Regions from separate parts of the Homo sapiens genome. Here regions 1, 2, 3, 4, 5 and 7 are each linked to region 6. The links are contacts of gene promoters, found by promoter capture Hi-C in blood cells and fetal thymus (Javierre and others, 2016). All regions are on one chromosome and are shown on one strand. The core of a region is centred on a gene start or on the middle of the fragment in contact, and the rest is flanking DNA. Distances in the headings are between cores, read along the strand shown. Region 1 has its middle 86 kb from the start of HMG20A. Region 2 overlaps ETFA (electron transfer flavoprotein subunit alpha). Region 3 has its middle 100 kb from the start of ETFA. Region 4 overlaps TMEM266 (transmembrane protein 266). Region 5 overlaps ETFA (electron transfer flavoprotein subunit alpha). Region 6 holds the start of SCAPER (S-phase cyclin A associated protein in the ER). Region 7 has its middle 87 kb from the start of LINGO1.

What was found. Contacts are between HindIII fragments. The CHiCAGO score rates a contact against its expected background, and 5 or more counts as called.
Region 1: a contact is called between a fragment that was not itself captured here and the fragment with the promoter of SCAPER in region 6, in 1 of 17 cell types (naive B cells). The highest score is 6.6, in naive B cells.
Region 2: a contact is called between a fragment that was not itself captured here and the fragment with the promoter of SCAPER in region 6, in 2 of 17 cell types (total CD4 T cells and M2 macrophages). The highest score is 6.4, in total CD4 T cells.
Region 3: a fragment that was not itself captured here is called in contact with the fragment with the promoter of SCAPER in region 6 in 3 of 17 cell types (erythroblasts, megakaryocytes and endothelial precursors); the score reaches 6.9 in erythroblasts.
Region 4: a fragment that was not itself captured here is called in contact with the fragment with the promoter of SCAPER in region 6 in 7 of 17 cell types (megakaryocytes, endothelial precursors, erythroblasts and 4 more); the score reaches 9.8 in megakaryocytes.
Region 5: a fragment that was not itself captured here is called in contact with the fragment with the promoter of SCAPER in region 6 in 10 of 17 cell types (M1 macrophages, fetal thymus, megakaryocytes and 7 more); the score reaches 9.7 in M1 macrophages.
Region 7: a contact is called between a fragment that was not itself captured here and the fragment with the promoter of SCAPER in region 6, in 6 of 17 cell types (total B cells, naive B cells, naive CD4 T cells and 3 more). The highest score is 8.7, in total B cells.

The regions. Positions count from the first base shown.
Region 1 is chr15:77,504,827-77,508,421 of GRCh38, reverse strand. It overlaps a transcript of HMG20A not described here. Among named protein-coding and RNA genes, the nearest start is that of HMG20A, 86 kb to the right of the region's middle. RefSeq lists an enhancer at 1-893. The HindIII fragment of the contact is 3,898 bases long and covers 1-3,595 here.
Region 2 is chr15:76,287,947-76,291,493 of GRCh38, reverse strand. The region is part of intron 4 of ETFA (electron transfer flavoprotein subunit alpha); the gene reads left to right. Among named protein-coding and RNA genes, the nearest start is that of ETFA, 22 kb to the left of the region's middle. The HindIII fragment of the contact is 6,746 bases long and covers 1-3,547 here.
Region 3 is chr15:76,207,736-76,211,333 of GRCh38, reverse strand. No RefSeq gene overlaps it. Among named protein-coding and RNA genes, the nearest start is that of ETFA, 100 kb to the left of the region's middle. The HindIII fragment of the contact is 2,908 bases long and covers 1-2,729 here.
Region 4 is chr15:76,192,223-76,195,634 of GRCh38, reverse strand. The region is part of intron 9 of TMEM266 (transmembrane protein 266); the gene reads right to left. Among named protein-coding and RNA genes, the nearest start is that of ETFA, 120 kb to the left of the region's middle. The HindIII fragment of the contact is 4,829 bases long and covers 1-3,412 here.
Region 5 is chr15:76,232,035-76,235,456 of GRCh38, reverse strand. All of the region lies in intron 9 of ETFA (electron transfer flavoprotein subunit alpha), which reads left to right. Among named protein-coding and RNA genes, the nearest start is that of ETFA, 78 kb to the left of the region's middle. RefSeq lists an enhancer at 454-1,143. The HindIII fragment of the contact is 3,567 bases long and covers 1-3,119 here.
Region 6 is chr15:76,903,950-76,907,589 of GRCh38, reverse strand. SCAPER (S-phase cyclin A associated protein in the ER) reads left to right here and starts at 2,250. Exons shown (of 32, transcript NM_020843.4): 1 at 2,250-2,291. RefSeq lists an enhancer at 1,904-2,404 and silencers at 2,145-2,454, 2,465-2,574, 2,595-2,674. The HindIII fragment of the contact is 6,645 bases long and covers 2,013-3,640 here.
Region 7 is chr15:77,543,896-77,547,612 of GRCh38, reverse strand. No RefSeq gene overlaps it. Among named protein-coding and RNA genes, the nearest start is that of LINGO1, 87 kb to the left of the region's middle. RefSeq lists a silencer at 3,713-3,717. The HindIII fragment of the contact is 4,566 bases long and covers 1-3,717 here.

The DNA of each region.
Region 1 (3,595 bases), core at 631-3,130, 600 kb before region 6:
ATCTGACATGCAAAGGGCCTAGCACGGGATCTGGTGTACAGTGGGTGCTCAGGAAGCAACTATTACCTGCAAGAAGCAACGAAGGGAGTTGGCGGGTCCTTAGCTTCTGCTCTGACAGCAGAACCCGAGCAGCCATATGAGACAAGCAGGTGCTGAGTAGGCGGGAAGGGGCAGTGGCTGGACCTGGGAGTTGGGGTCTTTCCCACACCTGACTTAGCTGGACGGTTCAGGCTTAGTTCTCAGCCTAAGATGGGCCCTCTGTCCTAGGACCTCCCCGTCCCTCCTCCCAACCTCACTGAGCAGATTAGTCAGGAAGTGTGCACAATGTGCTCATTGTTATTAGAGGAAAACAAAAATAGCCTTGGCCTGGAGACTGTGTGCGTAGGGCTTGGGTGCAGCGGGCTACTTGCTTCTTTAGGGAGGCTTTTTTTCAAGGGAAGCTCAGACTCACAGAGGTGTGCTTGGGGTGGGCCCCCCCAAAGACAAGACCTCCCCAACCTGCCCCTCTCTTGCTCTCCAGACCTACGCTCAGCACCGCCCCCCCACAACATGCTTTCCATCCTCATGTCTCCTCCAACCCCCTATCTTTACCCACCCCTGTGCCTTCACTCCCAACAGTCAGCTGTCTCTGTTGGAGAATGGCCCTGAGCTGCCAGAACCACTCTGCCCGCACCTGTGAAGAACAGGAAATACCTGGACATTTTTGTGCTCCATTTGGGGAGGGCAAGGAAGTAAAACTGCCCCTGCCCGCTTGCCCCTGATTGGGGCACCTCTAAAGTGTCCCCACAGCTCCCTGGAGTATGAGACACGCAGCCCTTCGCGTGGCTTGGCTTGATGCCACACCCTGGCTTGGCTTCTTTCTCTTTGCTTGCGTCCCACTTCCTTGTCCCTCTACTGTCTTTCCCACTTAGATTTCTCCCTAAGAAATCATTTTCACATAAATCTAGACTCAGTTTTCCTCAGGGGAACCTCAGCTAAGATATTCTCCAACCTCAGGACCAGGCACAGCGGAGGGAGGCACCTGGAGAGACCTGTCCTTTGACTGCTTCTGGGAGGGGTGTGGGGGGTGTGTGTACATGCACCTGCCTACACTCTGCCTTTTACAGTGGGGAGCAGGGAAGAGGAAGGAAGAAGCCTGTATTACTCAGAGCCCTCCAGGGAAACAGAACCAACATGATGCACGGAGAGATTTGTTATAAGGAATTGGCTCACAGGATTATGGGGGCTGAGGAGTCCACACCCAGAAAAGCTGATGGTGTGAGTTCCAGTGTGAGTCTGGGAGCAGGAAGAGATTGACATCCCAGCTTGAAGACAGTCAGGCAGAGAGGAAATTCTTTCTTACTCAGGCGTTTATTCTGTTCGAACCTTCAACTGATTGGATGGAGCCCACCCACATGAAGGAGGGCCCTGTGCTTTACTCAGTCTACGGATTCAAGTGTTAATTTCATCCAGAAACAGGCATGGTGGCCTAGTCAAGTGGACACATAGCATGAACCACACCAGGGCTGCCCAGGCCTTTGCCTCTGCAGTGTGGTGTGGAGGCGCTGGCCGACCTTCCTTCTCTTCATCACATCCCCACTGGCATAAGGGGCACTGAAACGCCTACAAGGGCCATGGCTGGAATGCAAGGACATTTCCTGTTTCCACAGATGGCTCCCTCCAGGGTCTGGGAGCCTCTGCCTTTGGCTGGAACAGGTCACACCCATTCCGCAGGCGTGAAAACCGGAACGTGGGCTGGGCGCAGTGTGGCAGGCAGGAGTCTCAGAGGCGGAGCTCTGTCTTTTGGCGGCCCTGGCTCAAATCCTTGGCTTCCTTCCCAGAACCCCCACTTTGGGAGGAAGAGAAAAATAAATTGTGTTCTAGGTGCTCAGCAACAAAGGCAAAGTGGCTGAGCAGTGGTAATGAATAGCAAGAACAGGGAGTCAAGAGGGCAGCCGCACACTCCAGGTCTGTCTTGGTGCAGAGACAATAAACACAATCACCCTGCGGGGAGAACGCACTGCCTCCGGAGCAGGCAAGGGGCATCGGCGGCTTCATCGTGAACCAGCAACTGGTGGAGAGGGAGGGGAGTGCACAGGGGAGGACTGCCCATTAAAGACACCCTGATCCTAATGCGAGGCCCCGTGACCTTCTGAAACCTTCTCTAGCTTTTCCCAGAGACGGCTTGGCTGGGATCGGGGTGGGATATGGATGAGATCACTAGATAAAATAGAGGATGCCCAGTTAAAGTTGAACTTTTCATGGGACATACTTACTTATATTAAAAAATTATTTGTTGTTTATCTGAAATTCAAATTTAACTGGGTGTCCTGTATTAATTAATTAAAGGGTTTTTTTTTTTTTTTTTTGCTAACTCTACCAACCCTAGGTGGGGGGGTAGAAATCCTACATGGGAAAAGTGGTTGAAGAAACTCAGGTAGTTTATCCCAGCAGCTGGCAGACTCTGGGCACCGGCTCCCAATTCCAGAAGGGCTGTCCTGGGAGAGTTAGACTAGAAGATGGAATGGTTGCATTTTGAAATAGCAGCTACCTGGTCTGTTCAAGAAGAGAGTGGTATGGCAGAAGGAAGACACAGCTCAGGGCTGCAGATCTGGCTCTGCCATCTACTCCCGGGAGCCCCTGAGCTTGCACACCGGTGAATCACAGGTGTTCTGCATGGACATGCCCTCCGGCCCTGCAGCCCTGTAGCCCTGCAGCCCACATCAGCCTGGTTTATATCCTTGCATGCATCACATTTCTCTAGCTGGTGAACTGTGATAGGAGCAGCAGATCAAGGGCTCAGCTGCCTTTCCTCCTTCCTCCAGGCCCCAGGTTGCACTGTATTTCTTGAACATGCGGAGAAGCAGGTGCTGGCTGGTGAGGATGCAGAAGCCAGTGTGTCCTGCTGGTTCTCCTGCATGGGAGGCGTAGGGTGTGGGAGCAGAGAGGGTGAGGCAGAGCCCTATGATCAAGGCCATCGGGCTCAGCATGCTGTCCCTACACGACCTTGCCAGGGTCTTGCTCTGTCCAGCTGGGCATCTGGTGACTGGGCCATCCTGAGTCCCCTGACTGAAGAAGATGTCCTAGGAAAGATGTGTCTGAGCTGCATCAGCTCTGGGAAGCTGCCCAAGCTGAGGCTGAGGCCCTTTACCTCGAACCTGGAAATCTCTGCCTGCTTCAGCCTTGTCGATGAGGCAAAGCCTCAGAGTGGACGTCCCAACTCATGCATTGCTGGCCAGGACGTGCAGCCATCTGGAGCACAGGTCCAGGGCTGGAAGGGCACTTGTGGGCAGTCACTCCACTTCTTCCTCCTATTCACATGGGGGAAACCAAGGCCTCAAGAGAGGAAGGCGTTTGATCAAGGCCAGTCCAGGATTCTGTGTCCAAACAGGTGTTCACATCCCCTGTTCAGTGCTCAGGGGTCTGCCACATATGACCCCGAACCTCAGTGAGTCAACTAACATACACTGTGCCAGGCACCCCCAAGGACGCTAAAATCCCACAATAATACAGCAGACATGTCATGGCCCCTATTGCTTCATTGCCTCATAGACACAGGAGATGATGGAGCCTCAGAGTACTGTAGAAACTTATCTGAAGTTGGTGAGTGGCGGGG
Region 2 (3,547 bases), core at 90-2,589, 620 kb after region 6:
CAGGCGTGAGCCACCGCGCCTGGCCTACTTTTTTTTTTTTTTTTTTTCGAGATGGAGTCTTACTTTCCTCGCCCAGGCTGGAGTGCAGCAGCACAATCTCAGCTCACTGCAACCTCTACCTCCTGGGTTCAAGCCATTCTCCTGCCTCAGCCTCCCGTGTGTAGCTGGGATTATAGGTGCGTGCCACCACACCTGGCTAATTTTTGTATGTTTAGTAGAGACAGGGTTTCGCCGTGTTGACCAGGCTGGTCTCGAACTCCTGACCTCAGGTGATCTGCCTGCTTCAGCCTAGCTCTGTTGCCCAGACTGGAGTGCAGTGGCACGATTGTAGCTCAACATACCCTCCAACTTGTGGGCTCAAACGATCCTCCTATCCTAGCCTTCTGAGTAGCTAGGACTACAGGTACATGCCACCATGCCCAGCTAATTTTCAAATTTTTTGTATCGATGTAGTCTCCCTATGTTGTGCGGGCTTGTCTTAAACTCCTGGCCTCAAGTCATCCTCTCATTTCAGCCTCCCAAAGTGCTAGGATTACAGACATAAGTCACTGTGCTTAGCCTATTTTCACTTTTAAAAATTGTAAAATAAGTTGTACACAAATACATCCTTATTAGGAAGACTGCGTGTAGTACAGCAGTGTGCAGAGCAAGGTGTCAAAGTCCTGCTTTCTTATTCCCAACTCACCCTCCCCTCTTTAGAAGTATAGCTGTTAACAATTGTACATTCTTTTAGGCCTCCTTCTATGGATTTTTAAATTACAGTACATGTACAGCTATATATTTTTTACTTCTAAAATGGGATAATATGGCATGAATTGTTTTGTGAATAGTAGCTTTTACTTAAGAGTATGACTTGGGCAGGGTGCGGTGGCTGACGCCTGTAATCCCAGCACTTTGGGAGGATTGTCTGAGCCCAGGAGTTGTAGCCCAGCCTGGGCAATACAGTGAGATCTCATCTCTACAAAAAAATGAAAAAAAAAAATTAGCTGAGTGTGGTGGTGCATGCCTGTGGTCCCAGCTACTTGGGAGGCTGAAGTGGGAGAATTGCTTGAGCCTGGAAGGTTGAGGCTGCAATGAGCTGAGATTACACTGCTGCACTCCAGCCTGTGCTCCAGGGTGACAGAGCAACACCCTGTCTCAAAAAAAAAAAAAAAAAAAAAGAGTAGCGACTTTGGCTCATAATGTTTCTCTTTTTTTATGGCTGCATAAGATTCCATGTTTAGCTAAGGACAGTTAACTTGGTTCCAGTTTTTTGCATTTATATACTTTACTGCAAGAAAACATGGTCATGCATGTATCTGTGTAAACATGGGCTGGAATTTATTTACAATAGAGTTCTAGAGGTGAAATCACTGAGTCAAATGCTATGTAGTTTAAAAATTTTGATACCTATTACTTAATTGTCAACACTTGGTAGTATACATTTTAACATTTTTTCCTCCAGTCTGATGGGTGAAATAATCTTTGTGGACCGTTCTGTCTCTGAGAGTTTTGATTATATATTGGATGATTTAAATAATTTCATGAGCCTTGAGTTTCCTTCTATGATGACAGTTCACCTAACAGAGTGTTAGACCATGAAAGGGTGTTTGTCATTAGCTAGATTTTAGTACTCTGGCCATGATTGCTATGTTGTAACAGATGGGAGTTTTGAGAATAAGGGTCACATAATAGTAGCTGGTCGTGCGGCCTGTAAATGGGTTTGGAATGAGAAACGTCTATCAGAAGAAGCCAAACAATTTGCTGTATGATAGTCCTTCACCAGCTGTGGTTTTGAGATAACACACTTTTATACTTGTCTGCTAGAATTTTAAAATATGTCATTTTTTATGCACAAAAAGAACTCAATTATTGCTTCTTCTTCCCAGAAACCATGCAGGCAGCTTGTTGGATGGGATATATTTTTAATAGGATAGATATCTGTGTACCATCCACCCTCATGATGTTTAGATAGAAGACCAGATCCAGGAAAACATACTTTTAAGTACCATGGTAAAATTTCTTGAAGATATGTTAAACAAGGGATAATGAAAATACAAAAGACATTAAATTTTGAGCAATTTAGAAAGTTCTAAAACTTTTAAAAGAGGCAAAGTCTGTATAACATAAAATTTGTAAGATAATCTGTTCAGCCAAGTAACTATTCCAGTAATAATTCCTGAACAGTTAAAGAAGGTGGTTCAGGAGGAGGATTACTTACTGAAGCTAGCTTTAAATACTGACAAATCTGGTTTTTAAACCAGATTAAGTAGGTGCTTCAGAATGGGCATGGTGGCTCATGTCTGTAATCCCAGCACTTTGGGGTGCCAAGGCAGGAGGATCAGCTGAGGCCAGGAATTCGAGACCAGCCTGGACAACAACGCAAGACCCCGCTTCTACAGAAAAAAACAAAACATAAACCAAAAAATGAGCTGGACGCAGTAGCGTGCGCCTGTAGTCCCAGCTACTCAGGAGGCCAAGGCAGAATAATCTCTTGAGCCCAGGAGTTCAAGGTTACAGTGAGCTATGATCACACCACTGCAAGTTCAGCCTGGGTAACAGAATGAGACCCTGTTTCCAAAAAAAAAAAAAAAGAAGAAGAAGAAGAAGAATTAACTGAGACTTGGGGAACTGTGACTTTCCCAAGGATTCCTGCTGCTGAGGACAAAGTTAGCACATGCATCTATTTCAGTACAAGCACAAGAACACACCTTTATTTTATTTTTGTTGCTTTTTAAATATGTACTACACAGGCTGTTCTTCAGGTTAGTGTTATTCTTTTCCTTTTTTTTTTTTTTCTTTTGAGGCAGAGTCTCGCTCTGTCACCAAGGCTGGAGTGTGGTGGTACTATCTCAGCTCACTGCAACCTCCGCCTCCCAGGTTCAAGCAATTCTCATTCTCATGCCTCAGCCTCCTGAGTAGCTGGGACTACAGGCATACACCACCATCCCCGGCTAATTTTTTGTATTTTTAGTAGAGATGGTGTTTCACCATGTTGGCCACATTGGTCTCAAACTCCTGGCCTCAGGTGATCCTCAGCCTCCCAAAGTGCTGGGATTACAGGTGTCAGCCACTGTACCTGGCCTTACTCTTTTTTTTATACAATATCAATTTAAACAAAAGGTGAAATGTCTGCTGTGAATTTTTTTCTTTTATATACATTAAGTAAATGTATACAAGCATAATCTTTTTCAGTATTTGAGAATTTTACCACCCTTCTAAATTTGTTCTATCTTTTCTTATCTAAATTCAATAATCCACAACTGTCACACTTGGTAATTGATGTTTATTAAATTTCATATCTCATAGTTCAATATATTGCATTAAGGTGGCTTAATACTGTAAAACTCATGAAACTCTTAATGTAGTTAGAGTAATGGTAAGTACTCAATCTCAAAGGCTATTTAAAAAGCTGTGCTTGAAGTTGTGTATCCAAAGGTGCACACGAAATATAAAATATTTGAATTAAAATTTCTACAGAATATGCATTTAGAATATGTCATTACTGATCATTTATAGTCTTCCATCACTATGTATGTGTGTTAACTCACTGCTTATTTTGCTTTTA
Region 3 (3,598 bases), core at 26-2,525, 700 kb after region 6:
CTGAGATTCTGATTTCTTGAATGTTTCCTACTCTTTCCCCCACTGATGGGGTGACATACATGAAAGTGCTATATAAGCCAAGGATTATCAGCAACTCTTCTTCAGATGAGAAAACTAAAGCCTACAGAGCTTAAAACACTTGCCCAAGGACGCATGGCTAGTAAATGGTGACCACAGGCCAGTCTGCTCCCAACCACATGCCATATCCCAAGTGCCTCAATGGGAGTGCAGAGGATGGACCTAATCTAGCCTGACTAGGGTGGGCTGCAGTGCAGGGCAGCAAGATATGAAGGCCTCACCAAGTTCAGAAGGGGCAGCAAAATCAACCAGATGAAGAAGTGCATTCCAGGCAGAAGGCCAGCATGGACAAAGAACAGGATTACCCAGGAACATGACACACTGAGCTGCTTTCTCTGGAAAATGCAAGGTCTAGACTCTGATGCATGAGTCCCCTTCTAGCCGGACACTCCTCCATTCTGAACCACTCTTTGCTCAGGGAAGCAGGGGTCTTTGTACTGCAATCTGGATCCAGTCTGCTCATTGGCCTTTTGTGGTATTTAGCACGGTGCAGGTCCCAGAACCCCCTATCGCTTCTTTAATCAGTGGAGGCGGAGGTGAGCATACCTAGTTATGAGGCCTAATTGATGTTGGGGAGGTTCCTAGAGTGCTCGGTGAAGGGTGACCCATAAATCTCAGACACTGAAGAATTCTGCCACATCCATCACAGTGTTTAATGTCCTGATTGATCTCCAGGGTAGTCAATTTCATTTGCTTGTTTCAGGATGAAGAGGCAGCCTGCTTCCCTATGTTGCAGCCTGGGGCTCTGCATAAAATTATGCCAGCCCTGTCTCCTGGTAGCTTGCAATAAATTTTAGCAGCAAATGTTTCATCATTTTCCTTGGATAATTAACTATTCACCAGGAGATAATACCAAACTTTTCAGCAGTGGAGTCAAAGATATTCAGAATAGTGATGAATTCCTCACTTAGTTAATGTGAGGGAAATACAAGTTTTTGGCAAGTACTCCAGTAGTACTCCAATAGTACTGACCAAAGGGAGAGGAAGGAAGATAAGGTGCCTCCTGTCTGGGGGATAACAGTGCTCTCTTACCTCACTCAGAGTGAATACAGGCATGGAACAAATGAGTATGTGCGAGCAGGGATGCACTCAGGAGAGGAGCAGGCAGTGGCTGGACTGGCTGTTATGACTAGGGGCGGGGCTCACTGCCACCCTCCCACACCAGACTATCAGCAGCAGCAAGAGCGTCTCCTGGGCAGCTGACCCCAAAAGTGCTGAGCATGTGCTGGCAGTAAAACACCCCAGGCTTCTCATTAATAAGGATGCTTTCTGTTTGTGTCTCCCCTGAAACATTCTCAAAGGGTTTTCCCTTCTGTTACATCATTAGCTATCCCAGCAGCCTTCAGGGTGGGAGGCACAAGATCATTCCTGTTGTACATGGGGAGGAAGCAGGTCTAAGGATTTGCTTGGAGCCTCATAGCAAACCAGAAACAGGGCTGGGCTGAGAATCCAGTCTCTGCCACATCCCGTGCATAGGTACAGTGGCACCTGAGGTAGGAGGCATGGGAGAGAGTGGGATGAACAGACCTCTCTCCAGCCCTGAGATGTCCATGGTTTGGCTGTTTCAGCCCCCAGAGTTGTTGGGGGTCCTTGTGAAGCAACTCCACACAGGTGTTGAGTGGGGCACAGGGTACTGTCAGCTTGTTAGTAAGAGGGATTCCTTGGGCCCAGATAATTTGTCAGCAGCTCCAAGAGTGGGACCCCAACTCTGTCTTCTCTCTTTAGAGGTAACTGAATAGCACCAGGGAGGAGCGTGGCGGCAGCACCAAGGCGGAAGCCATGCTCTTTTGACTCTGGCTTCCGTCAAGAGCTGTCTTGGAAGGAGAAAGGAGCTCCTGAGTTGAATTTCAGGTGGACACCCACCATGCTAAATAGAATTCCAAGCCACTAGCCTCTAGCCACACAGGTTCCATCCCAACACTCCTGTCTGTGGGACTTGATCTGAAAAGCCACACTTTGGTTGGGAACCTTGCCCAGGGCTGGCTGGAGAGGGGCCTGTTGTGCCACTCAGGGAAGGCCTTATGGTTCCCTCATCCTGGGTGGGCTTCAGGCTGGGGCTGCAGACTCTGGCCCAGCTCCCTGGTGGGCCAGTCACCAGCACTGCTGGCTCTGAGTCCTGATTTCTTACTTTGGCTTTCCTGGTGGCACCTGGTTTGATTCTGGACAGCTCATTTCACATCTAGCATGGCATATAATCCAGCCAGACCTGGGTTTGAATCCTGCCACTACAGCTCACTAGTTAGCTGTGTGCCCTTGGGCAAGCCCCTGAATGAGTCATTCCATGGCTGCTGTTTTCTCCTCTGTAAAGCAGGGAAGATAGCGCCCACTTTCCAGGGCTGTGCTAAGGAGGGAAGCCTGTGAAGAGCACCTGTCACAACAGGAAATGCAGACGTGGGAGTCACTATTGTTACCACCCTCTTGTTCTAGCAGGAGACAGTGGCTGTTACCAGACCCTCCCTTCAGGGACAGCCCGATGACTCCTCTGGGCCACCAGAGTGGGTTCTCCAAAAGGGTGCAGGAGAACGGGGAGCCATTTCCCAGAGCTGCAAACCTCCCAGGGAGTGCTCAGGCTCCATCTCCCTCAGCCCCCAGCTGCCCGCCAGCCATAACTGTAGGATATGGTGCCCAGGGGAGCCATGAAAGGCGAAGCTTTTACCTCCATCTCCTGCACTTCAGGCCCCCAGGCCCCACCCTAGGACTTGCTGTGGGATGGGCTGGAGGAAGGGCTCTGGAGTCTGCAGAAAGGACTGCCATGTTCCTGGCTCTGGCATCCTTCTCTGTGCTCTTGGTGCCAGGCACAGCCATCCTGATGTCTCATGCTCAGACACCACAGACTGGAAATGGTGGCATCTCCTCCTCATCAGTTCCCCCAAGTCCCATCAGTCAGGTGTCCCCAGCGTCTCCTCCACCACCGCTGCCTTCATCTTGCCTGCCCATGTGCAGCCTTGTTCCCTCTCCTCTGGGCACGGGCCCCTCCCTCTGGCTGCTCCTCTGCAACTACCAGAAGACTCTGTGGTAGCCCTTCCATAGCGCTTTATCTCTAGGGAGAACATCTGGCTTGGCCTGGCATCCAAGGCCTCTGGTGAGCAGCCTCACCTGTCCTTTTCCAGGTTGCTCTCATGTGGTCCCTTCCCCCTCCTACCCATTCCATCCTCTTCCTGACACCAAACTTCTCCCTGTTCCCAAACCCTGCCTAGCTCACTGCTGTTCCTCTGCTTGCACTGTTGTCCCACCACCCTCCTCCTGACATTCCTTCCTTTTTTTCCCCTTTAAGTGGTTTAACAACTGACTTCATGTCAGGGAGATAATCAAAAATTCCCTGCTCACATTCTCTGGAAGTGGGCCAGTTTTGTAGCTCAGCGTTGAAACTACCCCTAAAAACAGCTCTCCTCTTCCACGACAAACAGAAGAGTTGATTTGGTATACTTACTCTTTTAAAATCGCCTTTAAATGTTTCCTCCATTGTGAGGCCTTCAGATGTCCCCAGGCAAGTAAGTAGCTTCCTTCATCTGTGTGTACT
Region 4 (3,412 bases), core at 881-3,380, 710 kb after region 6:
GCAGCCTCAAGATGGGCTGTGGGCAGAGCCAGGAGGCTGTCACAGAGGAAGATCCTGAAATGGGCTGAGATGGTAAATCTGCTCCTTTCATCCTTAGGAAGCCAGGCGAAGTGGGCAAAAATTGCTCCCACCTTCCAGAAGAACTTTCAAAAAGAATAAGAAGGTGGATTCCACAAGCACAAGCCTAGAGGCTGAAAGCCAAGAGTGGGGTTTCTGGGGTGGACTACTGCTGACTGGCCTCAGCTCCCAGAGAAGACGCAGGGCTCCACACCAGAACAAGTGATGTCAGACAGCCTTATTTTGTTCTTTGATCAGTTACCGGCTTGAAGATTACATTCAATGCAACAAACTCTATGGAGACCTGACTGAGGCAGGCCCTGAAGTAAGTTTAGAGGGGAGACACACATAAACGCTCCTGGCAGTGGGGCAGGATCCGGACCTGGGAGTCGGTGTAAGGTTGCCAGGGAACGGTGTGGAGATCTGGGAGCTTACTCTAAGATGGGTTCTAAGCATGAAGAGAAGTCTGGTAGGCAGGTTGGGCCATCCCATGAACAGCATGCAGAGACTCAGAAACCGTACAGAACATTTACAGAACTAAAGGTTGTTCCATTCCTCTAGAATGAAAGGCAAGCTGGGGTGGAAGGAGATAAGGCTGGGGAAGCAGCCCGGGGCAAGATCGTCAGGGGTCTTATGTGCCTGCCCCCTCTTAAGGGTTGAATGGGTACCCCCTCTTCATTCACATGTTGAAGCCGTAACCCCTAGTACCTCAGAATGTGGTCTTACTTGGAAAGAAAGCGGTTGCAGATGTCATTAGTTAAGATGAGGTCCTTATATGACTGGGGCCCTTATAAAAAAGGGAAATCTAGACCCAGACATGTGCATAGAGAGGACGCCATGTGCAGATGAAGGCAGAGCAGGGTGATGCTACTGTAAGCCATGGATGCCAAGGATTGCCAGCCGCCACCAGGAGCCAGAGGGAGGCGTGGGACAGATTCTCACTCCCAGCCCCCAGAGGGAAGCAACCGTGCCCAACCTTGATCTCAGGTTCCAGCCCCCAGCACTGTGAGACAATACACTTCTCTAGTTTGTGCTAGCCAGTCTGTGGCATTTTGTTATGGTAGTCCTAGCAAACTAATCCACCAGCCTAAGGGGCGTGGGCTTTCTCCTGAGGGACACAGGGAACCAGGAAAGGTGGAAGTCGGGGAGTGGCATGAAAGATTTTGGAACAATCACGGTATGGTGGGGGAGGGGAGACTGCAGAGGGCAGGGAGCTGGGCAAGGTCCAGACATAACAAAGGCTGAACGATGAAGATGAAGAAGGGGGCTGTTTCAACTAATCAGGAATTGGCGATGGGTTGTGAATCAGGACCTACCAAGCCCTGGAGTAAAGGCAGGAATCAAACAAGCTACAGCTGGACGCTGATGATTGTGAAGTTCTGCACGAGGCTACAAAAAGCCTGTTGCCCAAGGCTGGGCTGCTGGGACACGTGGCTCAGCTGAGCTGTGTGGGGAGCACGTGAGGCTGGGTCAGCTATGAGCTCAGCCAAGTGGTCCCCACAAACTCAGGAGCCTACTGGCTGCATCGTGGGGACCTGGGTCCAGAAAAAAAAAAGCAGTAGTGGCCACCTCAACATTCTGCCCTGGGCTTGCAGCGCCCCAGTAATTGCATTCAGTTGTGGATATTACTCTGAGAGGGACCAAAACGCTGGAGAGCTCTGGGAGGAGGCAGTACATCAAGAACTTGGAGAGCACGTCCCCGAAGATTGGCTGTGGGAATGCAGGTGATGGTCCCTGGAGGAGAAACAATCTCTAAACAGTCTCAGCTGGGATGGCACTGCCTGTGCGTGAAACCCACAGCTGGTGGGGAGGCAGGGGCAGGGGACCAGGCCTCAGTGCAGTCTGAGGAAGAATCTTCTTACAGGCAGAGCCATGTGGAGGTGGGGTGGGTTCCCCAGGGAGGTATGAAGCACTTAGAGGAGGGCGAGCTGAGGCTGCATGGCTCATGGCAGAGAGTTATAGAGGGGATTCTCACATCAGCTGAAGGGCTGGACCCAGAAATCCCCTCTAGCCCCCAAATCCTATGTTTCTAAGATCTGAAGATCTCTCAAAAGAGTGGCTGGACACAGTGGCTCATGCCTATAAACCTAGCACTTTCCATGGCTGAGGCAGGAGGATCCACTTGAGGCCAAGACTTTGAGACCAGCCTGGGCAACATAGCAAGACCCCACCTCTACAAAAATAAAAACATTAATTGGGTGAGATGGTGTACACCTATGATCCCAGCTACTCAGGAGGCTGAGGTGGGAGGATCACTTGAGCCCAGGAGTCTGAGGTGGCAGTGAACTATTATGATACCACTGCACTCCAGGAGTGAGACCCTGTCTCCAAAAAAAAAGCAACCATTCGTTTCCCAAAAGCTGTTTGCAGTGTTGCAGTGCCTTACAGCCCTCAGAGCTTTCTCACACCCATCGGTTCCTCGTAAGTCCTGTGAGGCAGACAGAGCTGGAGTTAAGAGTCCATTTTACAGAAGGGAACACTGAAGCCTCCAGTCATGGAGCTGAGGAGTGGCAGAGGCTGGAGCTCAGGCCTCTTGCCTCCCCAGCTGCTCAGCCTGCCCGGCTGCGTCCTCACTGCCCTGCAGGGGACACGGCATGCCAAGGCAGAGTGGCTCCTGGATGAAGCTGGGGTTTTGGGTCCCACAGCCCGAGTTCCCAGCCCAGTACCACCATTTCCTGGCTTGGGTGGCCCCGTGCAATTCCCGAAACCTCTGAGCCTCGCAGCAGCCCTGTGAGGAAGCCTCAGTACTGCTCCTACTTGACAGCTGGCAAAACTAAGGCCCCAAGAGAGTCCCATCACATAACTGGCTGACAGAAGAGTTGGGATTTGAATCTCGAAATAACTCCCTTCCATACAGGACCCTACCCTGGGCTATCGCTCGTGTTCCCATCTCCACCAACATCACCGTCTCGTGAATTCTCACCGTCTGCAAGGCTCAAGCTCTGGGCTACTGTGGCCCCGGGCCTGGACTTGTTTGGGCCCCAGTAGGTGGTAGTCCAGTAGGAAGCCCCAGACCTCTGTCTGGAAGCCTGGCTCTGCCACTTATTAGCGATGCGCCTTTGGACGGCTTTCCTGGGTCTCGGTTTCTTCAGCCATACAACAGAAAAGTCACACCTCCTCCTCCGGCTACCGCGAGGACAGGGAAGACACCACACACAACGCACGCCAGTGGCCACAGGCATGAAATGGGGACGAGTCATTTCTAGTTTGGGTCGGTGGCTGGACTACATGCTCTCTCCTGGGCTCTGACAGGCAGTACCGAGGCTACTGATCTGAGCGTGTCCCCCAATCACGAGTGAAGGAGGGGCACACACCTGAAAGGAACCCCATCCACTCTGCGCACAGTCCCGGGGCG
Region 5 (3,422 bases), core at 87-2,586, 670 kb after region 6:
TTTGTACAAATTATAAAGTACTGGTGTCTCAAGTTACTTTACTGCCATCTGTTGGAAAGTTATTGTAATAAAAATGCAGGGCTATAGTGACTGTTAAGAGTGGTGCCCTCCTTCAGAGTTATTCAGTGTGCAGCCTGCTCAGCTGTACATGGTAGTCCTGAGGCTACCTCAGGAGCCCACCTGGCCACCTAGTGGGCTGAGAAAATCAATATTTGAATAAACCTCAACCCGTGAGTGACACATCAATGTGTCTTGGGAAATCTGATACTATGCTAAGGACGAGCCTCAACAGTAACCCTATAAAGCAGGAGTTCTTATAATTCCAGTGTTTTGGATGAGCAGTCTGAGGCATAGAGAGGTTACATGAATGGCCCATGGTCATGCAGCTATCAGATGGCAGAGGTGGGATTTGAATGGAGGCAATGAGGCTACAGAGCCTAGGTTCTTAACCACAGTGATACGGTAAACCTGTTAAACCGCATCAGATGCAACAGTTTCTCAGTCCTGCTGCCCTTTCTATCTCAGCCCACTGTAACTAGTTTAGACCTCAGCCCCTGAGTTCTTTGAATGAGTCTATAGGTTTTGGCAAAGGAAGAGGTATTTGTGCTTTTTTCTGCCAGTACTTGTTTGTGTTAAGGTTAAGTGCTATCCCTTCTCTATATTTCAGAATAAGCTCTGGTCCTCTTCCCATCCTGTGGCTTTACTTCTCCGCACAGCCCCTATTCTTGGCATCACAGAGTGATCAACTCAGACTGCTATCAGCCACCTGGGGTTGATCCATTCTCTTCTAAATTCTCACTCTTCTAGATTCTAAAGCCACGAGGCCTATCTCTAGGACTCTCCCTCCTTCTTTCTGTTTCTGTTGGTTCCTTTAATCCCCACCGTCCCCCACCACGCCTTGTATAACCCTTAATTGCTGTACTCCCTGGCAACATCTCTCACTTTCTCTCCAAATGGTCTTACTATCTGATTTAGAAGGAAAGTGCCTCAGGGAAGGGATTGTCTTGTTATGTTGTGAAGCAGCATCTGAAGTGCCCCATAAATTAGCATCTGTAGAGAGTTTTGTGTATACTAATTATTATTATTATTGAAATACAAAAATGCTTTCTGAACCATGAGGAATTAGACTAAGATATTAGTCTAATTGCCTGTACATGTTTTTTAAAAAGGAGGGAAAAAGCCTCTCTTCCTGAGAGAGCTATCAGAGCCTCAGAGCAGCCGCCAAAATCCCTATACTTGTTCTGGGTTATTGTTTCAGTGCTTTTATGTTTATTCAGAGGACCATGTTTGCAAGACAGTAAAATAAAGTCCTGTTGGTCATGTGGATCCATTTGGACCATTTATTGTGATCAGAAAGGTAGAAATGGCCCTGGAGCAACTGCCTTCAGTTTGTTTTGGCCCAGAATCTCTTATTTCCTTAGTGACACTTATGGTTAAAGTCAATGGAATTCATTTTTGGGGACACAGGGGGTTTTAAGTAATTTCATTTATATTATGTTTATGTTTACTGCCAGAGTGAATCAACATTTTTATTAGCATTTTATAATGCACATGGAGCTTTTAAGACTTGAATTTGCTGTAGACATGTATGACAGAAAGACTCGTTTACAGGACTACTGGTCTTTTCCAATGCTTGCTTTGAGAATATACCTAAAAGAGTGGTGTCTAGCTAAATAGCTTGCTTTAAAAATCTTTATGTTAGAATTTGTTTGCCGGGTTTTTCTGAATATGAATGTTAGTATATTTTGATTAACAGTTTAACAAATGTCCCTTTATGAATGAAATGCTAGTCAGAATAAACTGAGGTGACCTTAAAATTACCTATTGAAGGCTGGGCGCCGTGGCTCATGCCAGTAATCCCAGCACTTTGGGAGGCCGAGGTGGGTGGATCACAAGGTCAGGAGTTCGAGACCAGCCTGGCCAACATAGTGAAACCCCATCTCTACTAAAAATACAAAAATTAGCTGGGTGGGGTGGCATACACCTGTAGTCCCAGCTGCTCGGGAGGCCGAGGCGGGAGAATCGCTTGAACCTGGGAGGTGGAGGTTGCAGTGAGCCAAGACTGTGCCATTGCACTCCAGCCTGGGTGACAGAGTGAGACTCCATCTCAAAAAAAAAAAAAAAAAAAAAAGCCTATTGAATTACTTCTAAATCTTAAATAGAAAGTAGTGGAAGAAGTTTACTACTTATGCAAGTGTCCATGTCTGAGAGACAGTATGATGTCAGGGCCTCCTTGCATTGTCCGACTATGTAGGGTCACAATTGACACACTGGATACATTGAAGGTAGAATCACAGAGCATGCAATTGCTTTTTATCCTCATCCATACTTTCTGCAGCATTCCTCCCCACCCTAAGACACAGTCTTATTACGCCAAATTGTTCTTGTCTTCAGGCTTTTGGTAACTATAGAACAAGTTGATTCAAAAAACAAGCTCATCTCATTTTTAGATGATTAACTCACTTTGGGGACTAGATTGTTTCCTTTTCCAGGTTACATGGTGCTGCTCTAGGAGCAGTTGGACACTTTATGCTTGTAAAGATCAGGGAGTACTGCAGGGGGCTAGACAGTTGTCAGATTCAGGCTGCCAAAGAGCTGAGGGATCACTTATTGTAGTGGTTCTCCAGCTCTGGCTATACATCAGAGTATCCTGGGGAGCTTTCTTTACAAGCACCAGTGCTGGAGGTGTACCTCTTCTGTTTACAATTGGAAAAAGTGAGCCCCTGAGAGGTGAATTGACTTGTATGTGGCCATATACAATTAGGTGCTATGAAAAATCATGACATTAGGAGGTAATAACATTATTTTCAGATCCTAGTTGAAATGCTCTCTTATTTTGGATTGAGCAATTGTTAAATGAGATCATAAGCAGTGCAGAAAACAAGGTGGGACCACCTTGACACTGTCATTGGCTTTTGAAGTATCTGCCCTGTAATAAAAGTAAGTATAACAGAACCACCTTCAGTGCCTTCCACATATTATTCATATTGAGGAGAGACTTTACTGTCAGTTGTGACAAAACCTTAGTGTCAGTCTGGTTACATGGTAGTTATACCTCCTACCCAGGCCAGGACTTGTTTGTTCAGTTTTTCTGTGGGAAAAGGTTTTCAAGTGAAGCTTTAATCATACCTGGTAAACAGAATGAAGCAGGTAAGCTCTTCTAATTAAGCACTTATTAAAGTGCTTAAAGTTTTTCATAATGGAAGTGTGTTTTTATTTTCAAACAAAGGCACTGTAAAAATTTTAGATAAGGAGACAGAACAGTGTCAGTCATCATTCCCTTTGTAATTATTGAGGGCAGAGGGGCAGGAAGAGGTACAAATATCATCAACATTTACCAAAAAACTGTGGTATGGAGGCCTTTTTGTTAGGCTCTGGAAACACAAAGGTTCAGCCCATACCTTTGAGAAGTTTGTTATTTT
Region 6 (3,640 bases), core at 1,001-3,500:
CGCCAGGCTTGAGTGCAGTGGCATGATCTGTGCTCACTGCAACCTCCGTCTCCCTGGTTCAGCGATTCTCCTGCCTCAGACTCCTGAGTAGCTGGGATTACAGGCACATGCCACCACGCCCAGCTAATTTTTGTTATTTTTAGTAGAGATGGGGTTTCACCATGTTGGTCAGGATGGTCTCGATCTCGATCTCCTGACCTCGTGATCTGCCTGCCTCGGCCTCCCAAAGTGCTGGGATTACAGGCGGGAGCCACCAGCCCAGCCCAACTTTTTTTTTTTTTTTTTTTTTAATTGAGATGGAGTCTCGCACTGTCACCCAGGCTGGAGTGCAGTGGCATGATCTCAGCTCACTGCAAACCTCTGCTATCCAGGTTCAAGGGATTCTCGTGCCTCAGCCTCCCGAGTAGCTGGGACTATAGGTGTGCGCCACCGCACCCGGCTATTTTTTTTTTTTTTTTTTTTGTATTTTTGGTAAAGACAGGGTTTCGCCATTTTGGCCAGGGTGGTCTTGAACTCCTGACCTCAGGTGATCCACCTGCCTCAGCCTCCCAAAGTGCTGGGATTACAGGCGCGAGCCACGGCGGCTGGCCCCTAGTGATGTTGGAAAGAATGGTTTCAGTGGGGTGGTGGGGCAGAAACCAGAGTGCAGTAAGTCCAGACTTGAGTAGTGGTTGAGGAATTGGAGGCACTCTTGTTTAGATAATTGGAGAAATGTATTATAGGAAAGAAAGCAGAGGTTGAAGTGGAGTCTGGTAGGTTCGGCGGGAGATTTCAAGATGGGAGAGACTTCAGGTTGTTTACATGCTTATGAGTATGAAAGGAAGTGGGGATAATTAAGAAATGAGGCCCTGACCGCCTTTTATAGAATTGTAGTATGCTCCCTACTCTATCCCCCTTATCCTACTCATTTTGTTAACTGTAGTGCTTATCATGTTATATAATTTACTTATTTATTGTGTTTACTATTTCTTGTGTTAAAAGCAAAATATTAGCCAAATTAAACAGAGTTTGAGCAAAGAATTATTCCCGAATCAGGCAGCCTCCTGAGCCAGAGTAGGTTCATACAGACTCCCGCAGAGCCACATGGTGGAAAAAGGTTTATAGACAGAGAAAGAAAAGTGAGGTAGGGAAACAGCCAGAATGGTTATAGCTAGACGTTTACCTTATTTGAACACGGTTTGAACAGTTGGCCGTCTTTGGCCAAAACTTGGTGATTGGCGCAAGAGTAGGTTGCAGTGTATTTACACCTCCATTTAGGTTATAGTTTACTATTTACGGAGAAACCTTCAGGCTGAACTTAAAATATGTAAGGACACAGCTTTTGGCTAAACTTGATGTAACACTTGCCTGGTTTCACCCTGCTCCAAGAAGCCGGAGGTTTTTTAGAGATTTCTGTTTATTTTGCTCACGTATTAACTCCAAGCATCTAGAATACCATCTGATATATAGTATGTGGTCAATAAACATTTGCTGAATAAATGAAAAAGCGAGTTTTCTAAGAAGGCAAGAGAGAAGGGGAGCCAGAACATAGCCATATGGTTCCTGCCCCCACAACGCTTGTGAGTCCAGGACTTCCCGCCTACTGCGGGTGGGGAGGGAGAGGGAAGGGTAAAGAGCTGTTTCCCAGCTGGATGAAAAGGGACGGTGAATATTCGTTTGATAATTACAGTCTGCATTGAATCTTTTTTCTATTTTGTTCAGACTGATTTAAACGTTAAAGTATTTAATTCATCATATGTTTGTCTTTGAAGTAGATGAAACGTATTTGTTAGGTCTCTGTACTTCGACCTTCCAAGCCTGGCACACAGAAGGGCCCTGATAAAGCTTCTCGGAGGCCTAGTTGTGTTCAGCGCAGCCCAGCGTGCTCCTGTCAAGTGCTTTCGCCAGCACAGATTTCTGTGAGGCGCGTCTCTAAGTCCTTAATCTGTGGATTGACTGTGGTGATAAGGCAGGAGGAGGGAAGAGATTGAGTACGAGAAAGACCTGTGTGGCCAAAAGCGGCGGTGTAAGCTTAACCTAGGAAAAGAAACAGCTTCGGAAACGCCGCGCCGGGACATCGAACCAAATCAACCCTCACACCTCCCGCCTGGGCGCCCCAACGGCGCGAACGGGCGTGCGCCTGCGCGCGGACAACACAGATCTTGCAGCCGGGAGCGGCGCGGCAGCGGCTGAGATCACGTGGTGCGCCGGGAAGCCACCCCGCCTCTCCGAGGCCTCCCTGCCCCGCCCCGTCACGCCCCTTTCCCGGCGGGACGCTTTGAGCCGCCCCGAACTAAGCAGGGCGGTCGGGGGTGAGTGTCCGCGAGGGGCGTGCGTAGCGCAGACCCGGGCGGGTCCGGGTTGGGGCGCGGGCCGTCTGAATGCCTTGCGGGGACCAGGGGACAAAATGGCGGCGGGGTACGCCCTTTCACCCCCTCCCCTCACCTGGGAGTGCGAGTTGAGCGGGGCAGGGATCGTTGCTGGGGGAGGGGAGCCGCGGTCGCCTGGGGAGGGCTCGGAGGTCGGCCTCGGAGGCCTCGGGACGGGGGCTGGGGTGAGCCGCGTCCGGGCCCTGCCCTGCGGGCTCATCTGGGGTGTGAGGGACGTGAGACCCCGCACACTACGCGGTCTGAGGGGTGAGTGGGGGGCTGCCGCGTCACCTCACTTGGGGGCAGCCCCGGCCGCGGGTGACGAGGCTTCTGGAATGTCTAAATGCGAGGGGCCCCTGGAGGAGCCTCCCTTCGTTTGACAGGTGATCGTCTTCGTCATCTGTCATTCCCAGCGGGGTTTACCATGCTTTCCCTGTACTCTGATCTTAGCTCTGCCCAGGAAACGGGGCAGGAATGGCCTCTCCGTCTTCCAGATGCGTGCGCTGAGGCCTGGAGGGGCGAAGAGCCTCTCGCACCTGGGAGTAGTGGGACCCAGCCTCCTGCCTCTGTTGCTGCTCTTTTCCAAAACAGCACTTCCTTGGCGCCTTTCCTCTACACCGTTTTCCAGGCGCGTTCGTGGGAACGGCACCAGGGAGGAACGGGATTGTTAGAAAGCAGGCACAAAACTGGTCCTGTAAGCAACACCTGCTGCTGTTAAGGGGGCCCCAGCTGAGATGAGGCCGCCTGTTTGTGAGCAGCTTCCTGTTGCTGGTGGACTGCATCTCTTATTCTAGTTGTGACAAGTTATTTTCCATGAAAATAGCTATTCATTAATAGTCATTTTACCGAACAGATACTAATTCCTTATATGAATTATAGTTTGTCTTAGTTTATGGATTAATTTCATCATTAACTTTTCATCTTCATAAATAATCTGGTAGAAGGATGGATGGGCTAGGAGTAATACTTATTTTATGAATGGAGAAACGGGGGCTCAAAAGGTTATTACTTGCCTTAGATCACCAGCTGGTGAGTGGTAAATCTGGGGTTAAGTTTTCTGACCTAAGGTTGGTAGTCTGACCACTGTCCCACTCTGGCCTATACTGGTGCTCTTTCCCTTCTGTTATTTCTGTTAACTATGACTTTTCCTCAAAGTTTGTTGGTTGCAGATGATTTATGCCACTTGAAGAATGATATCCACTAAAGAATTAATATTTTTAATCAATCAAAGAGTCAAGTTTTAATGTGATTTGGAAGGTTGTCTGTGGGAGAAGTAATCTGATGGCTTTGAA
Region 7 (3,717 bases), core at 776-3,275, 640 kb before region 6:
CAGACAGTATACCCCCTGAGAGCAGGAATGTGGAGTTTTCTCTCTGTGTCACCAGCGCCCAGCACAGAGTAGACAGCAATTAATTGCCCTCGAACTGTACTGGTCTCCCAGAGCCTGAATACTGGCCTCTCTGAGGTGTTGTGATCTTTACAGTGTCAGCCAAGCATGCATCAATAAGCAAAGTTATAGCAACACCCAACCCTAAGAGAGCACTCACCACATGCCAGGCACTAAGCACTTAATATAAGTGAACTCCCTAGGGGGTAAGTGCTATTATCACCCCCACTTTCAGATGAGGAAACTAAGGCACAGAGAGGTGAAGCAGCTTGCCCATGATCGCACAGCTGGGATGGGCAGAGTCAGGATTTGAATTCCAGGCAGTCTGGAACTCAGAGCTTGGAACTCCTAACCACCACCCTAGAACTCATTAAGGGAACTCTTCTGTCTATGCCCAGTATGTCACAGGATGCAGTGATACAGGGACAGCAGTATACCCAGGACAGTAAATAGCTCCATCTAAAGGCAATTGTGTCCTGAGGACCCAGACAGCTCAGTAGTAACTGATGAGCTTTTGCAAGCATGTGAAGCATCTGATGCCACAGTGATGACCACAAGGACACTGCCGCTGGCTCCTTTAGGGTGGTTTTGAATCTTTTTTTTTTCTTTTCTTTTCTTTTTTTTTTTTTAGACAGAGTCTCACTCTGTTGCCCAGGCTGGAGTTCAGTGGTGCAATCATGGCTCACTGCAACCTCCACCTCCTGGACACGAGCAATCCTCTCACTTCAGCCTCCTGAGTAAGTGGGACTAGAGGCGTGCACCACCATGCCTGGCTAATTTTTGTAGAGACAGGGTTTCACCATGTTGCCCAGGCTGGTCTTGAAATCCTGGGCTCAAGTCATCCACCTTCCTTGCCCTCCCAAAGTGCTGGACTTATAGGCGTGAGCCACTGTGCCCAGTGAGTCTTTTCTCAATGGTGCCACTGAAAGTTCCAGTGTTCACATGTATGCCATGAACCCCCAAAAAGCTGAGGATTCCTGGGCATGCACATTGGAAGTGCTTTCTCTATCTTGCCTTCAGTACTCCAGGCTTGCTTCCTTGGCACTACTAAGCTCCCTCTCCTTCATCCTTACCTCAGGGGAGAAAAGGGGAAATGGAAACAGGAAGGTGTTACCTAAGAGCCTCCAGCTGGGTAGTCCTGTTTCCTTGGACTGTGACAAGGATGAGGGCTCAGACTGTGAGCAGGATCAGGGCTCAGTCTATTAGTGAGGTTGGGATTCAGTTAGAGTCTCTGACCCTCAATCTCCACACTTCTTTCCTTGTTTGACAAGGCAGGGCATGTGGTCTGGCTCACAGATTTCACTGGCCAAATTAGGCATGAATCACCAGGGTCGAATGCAGTGCCTTCTGCTCTCCCACATCGTCCTGGCTGTCTTATCTGTAGCAGTGCTTCTGGGCATGCAGTCGCCGCCTAGCTCCTTGCATGCTGATGACCTCTACCCTGAATGGCAGGGCTACAAGCTGGCTGTAGCAATTTGAGGGAGTCACCTACCTTCCTTCTCCTTCTGAATGTCCCTGTAGGCACCTTGAACTCAACCCAACAGCCTGAACACTCCCTGGAAGCCTGCTTCTCCCTGACGTTGCCAGTTTCAGCCAAAGGCACTCAGAGGTCCAACTTGACAATGGGACATTGCCCTGGAACGTGCCCCTAGGAAATCAATCCCCAAAGCCTCCCCGTCCAGTGGATCACCCCCTGCTCCCCATTTCTTCAGCCACAGGCCTGAATGTTTTTCCGCTGAGACTTAGAACAGCCACCTCAGGGGTTCCTCTGTCTCCACCATCATCCTTTCCTGCCACACTACAGTAACAGTGGCCTTTCTAAAGTGTAAGTCTAACCATGTCACTCCCTGGCTGGACCTACATGCACTCAAGGGAGAGGGCTGAGCTAAGATAGTAATTTGGGATAGATCACTTTCCAACCACGAGAGAGGTGGGCTCACCAGGGGAGGGCGCGTCAAGTGAGAAGAAAGAGAAGAGGGCTTAAGCCAAACCCTGAGATTCTTCAGGGATGGGAGGGGAGCACCCAGTCCCAAGAGGGAGCAGGGAGGAGGAAACCCAGGAGCCAGTGCCACTGCAGGAAGGAGAGAAGCTGTCAGGTAGATCCATGCCCAGACCCCCTGAACAGAGCGCTCACTTTGTTCAGCAACTTAGAGGTTGCTGGTGACCTCAGTAAGAATCGTTTTATCTGGGAGACATAAAAAACAGAGGGCAGAGGCGTGGGGAGGAAGTCAGAGACGGGGGCAGTGAATGTACACAACTCTCAGTAATTGGGACTGGGGCCAAGGTGGGAAGGAAGATCACCTGAGGCCAGGAGTTTGTGATCAGCCTGGGCAACACAGCAAGACCCCATCTCTCCAAAAATTTTTAAAAAATAACCGGGCATGGTGGTGCACATCTGTGGTCCTAGCTACTGGGGAGGCTGAGGTGGGAGGATCACTTAAGCCCAGCAGTTCAAGGCTGCAGTGAGCTGTGATCCTGTCACCGTACTCCAGCCTGGGTAACAGAGGGAGACTCTGTCTCTGGAAAAATTAAAAAAAGAAGTGAGACTGGGACAGATCTGGCCATGGCAGAGGAGAGCCAGGGTCAAGGGAAGGTTTTATTTGGAATAAGAAGGAGCAGACCCACTCAGTCCTATATCCTTGGCCCAAGCCTGTCCTGCTCACTCTCACTACCCTACCCTTCTGGCTCTGGCTCCCAGAGATGCTACTTGCTCTTGAAAATTCTGGCTGGGGGAGGTGGGAGGGAGTGATATAGACAGACTGTCAGATTCAGAGTAGGGAGGCCCAGATACAGGGCATGGTCACCTAGATGTCAGCTGCAGATCCAGGGCAGGGGTGCTGGTATCCTGGGCCCTGCTCCCCCTCTCATTCCCCACCTTCATCGAGCTGGGGCCTTTCTTCATGGAGCTCTAAGAAGGAGAGGAGAGGCAGGAGGGAGCTGGAGGTGGGGTAGAGCACCAGGAGGCTCCGTAGGCATCTGGAGAAGTGAGGAGGGACAGAGAGGAAATATTAACTCAGTCAGGGAGCCGTCAAGGTCCAGAGTTGGGAGTCTGTGATAGTTCAGGTCCTAGGCCTGCCCCCACCTCGTCAAGTGATGCTAGGCTCTGTCCTATCATATCCGAGCCTCCGAGCCCAATCTGTGACCAGACAAGGCTAAACAAGCTGACCCCACTGGCCTTCCTGCCACGTCTTCCTGAGAGGTGAGAAGCAAGGGTCAGTCTGTGCTGCTCTGGATGGGAGTGGAGCTGGGAGCCAGGGCAGGGCAGGGCAGGGGATGACAGGCACCACTGCGCCATGTTCCAGCCCTTCTATCTGTGTGGAGGACACGGCTGTGAAATGTAAGTAAAACCCAAGTCTAATTTCCTCGGTCAGAAGGAGGAGGCACTGCAGCATTTTCAAACCCTAATTAAACCCGCTCGGGCGGTGTAACACCAAAATCAGTTCCAAGATCAATATTGCTATTCATTTAGAAGTGTAACGAGGTTAGAGAGGTGAGCAAAGGAAATAATTAACTCATTTGCAGCCTTTTTAAACAGAAACAGTCGTTTTAATCTCCAGGGTAATTAGCTATGCTCTGTCCATCAATCATGACCTCAGCCATTATTTTAAGTATTTGATTAATCAAGGAGGAAAGGGGTTAAGCCACCCCTCCAAGCCCCCA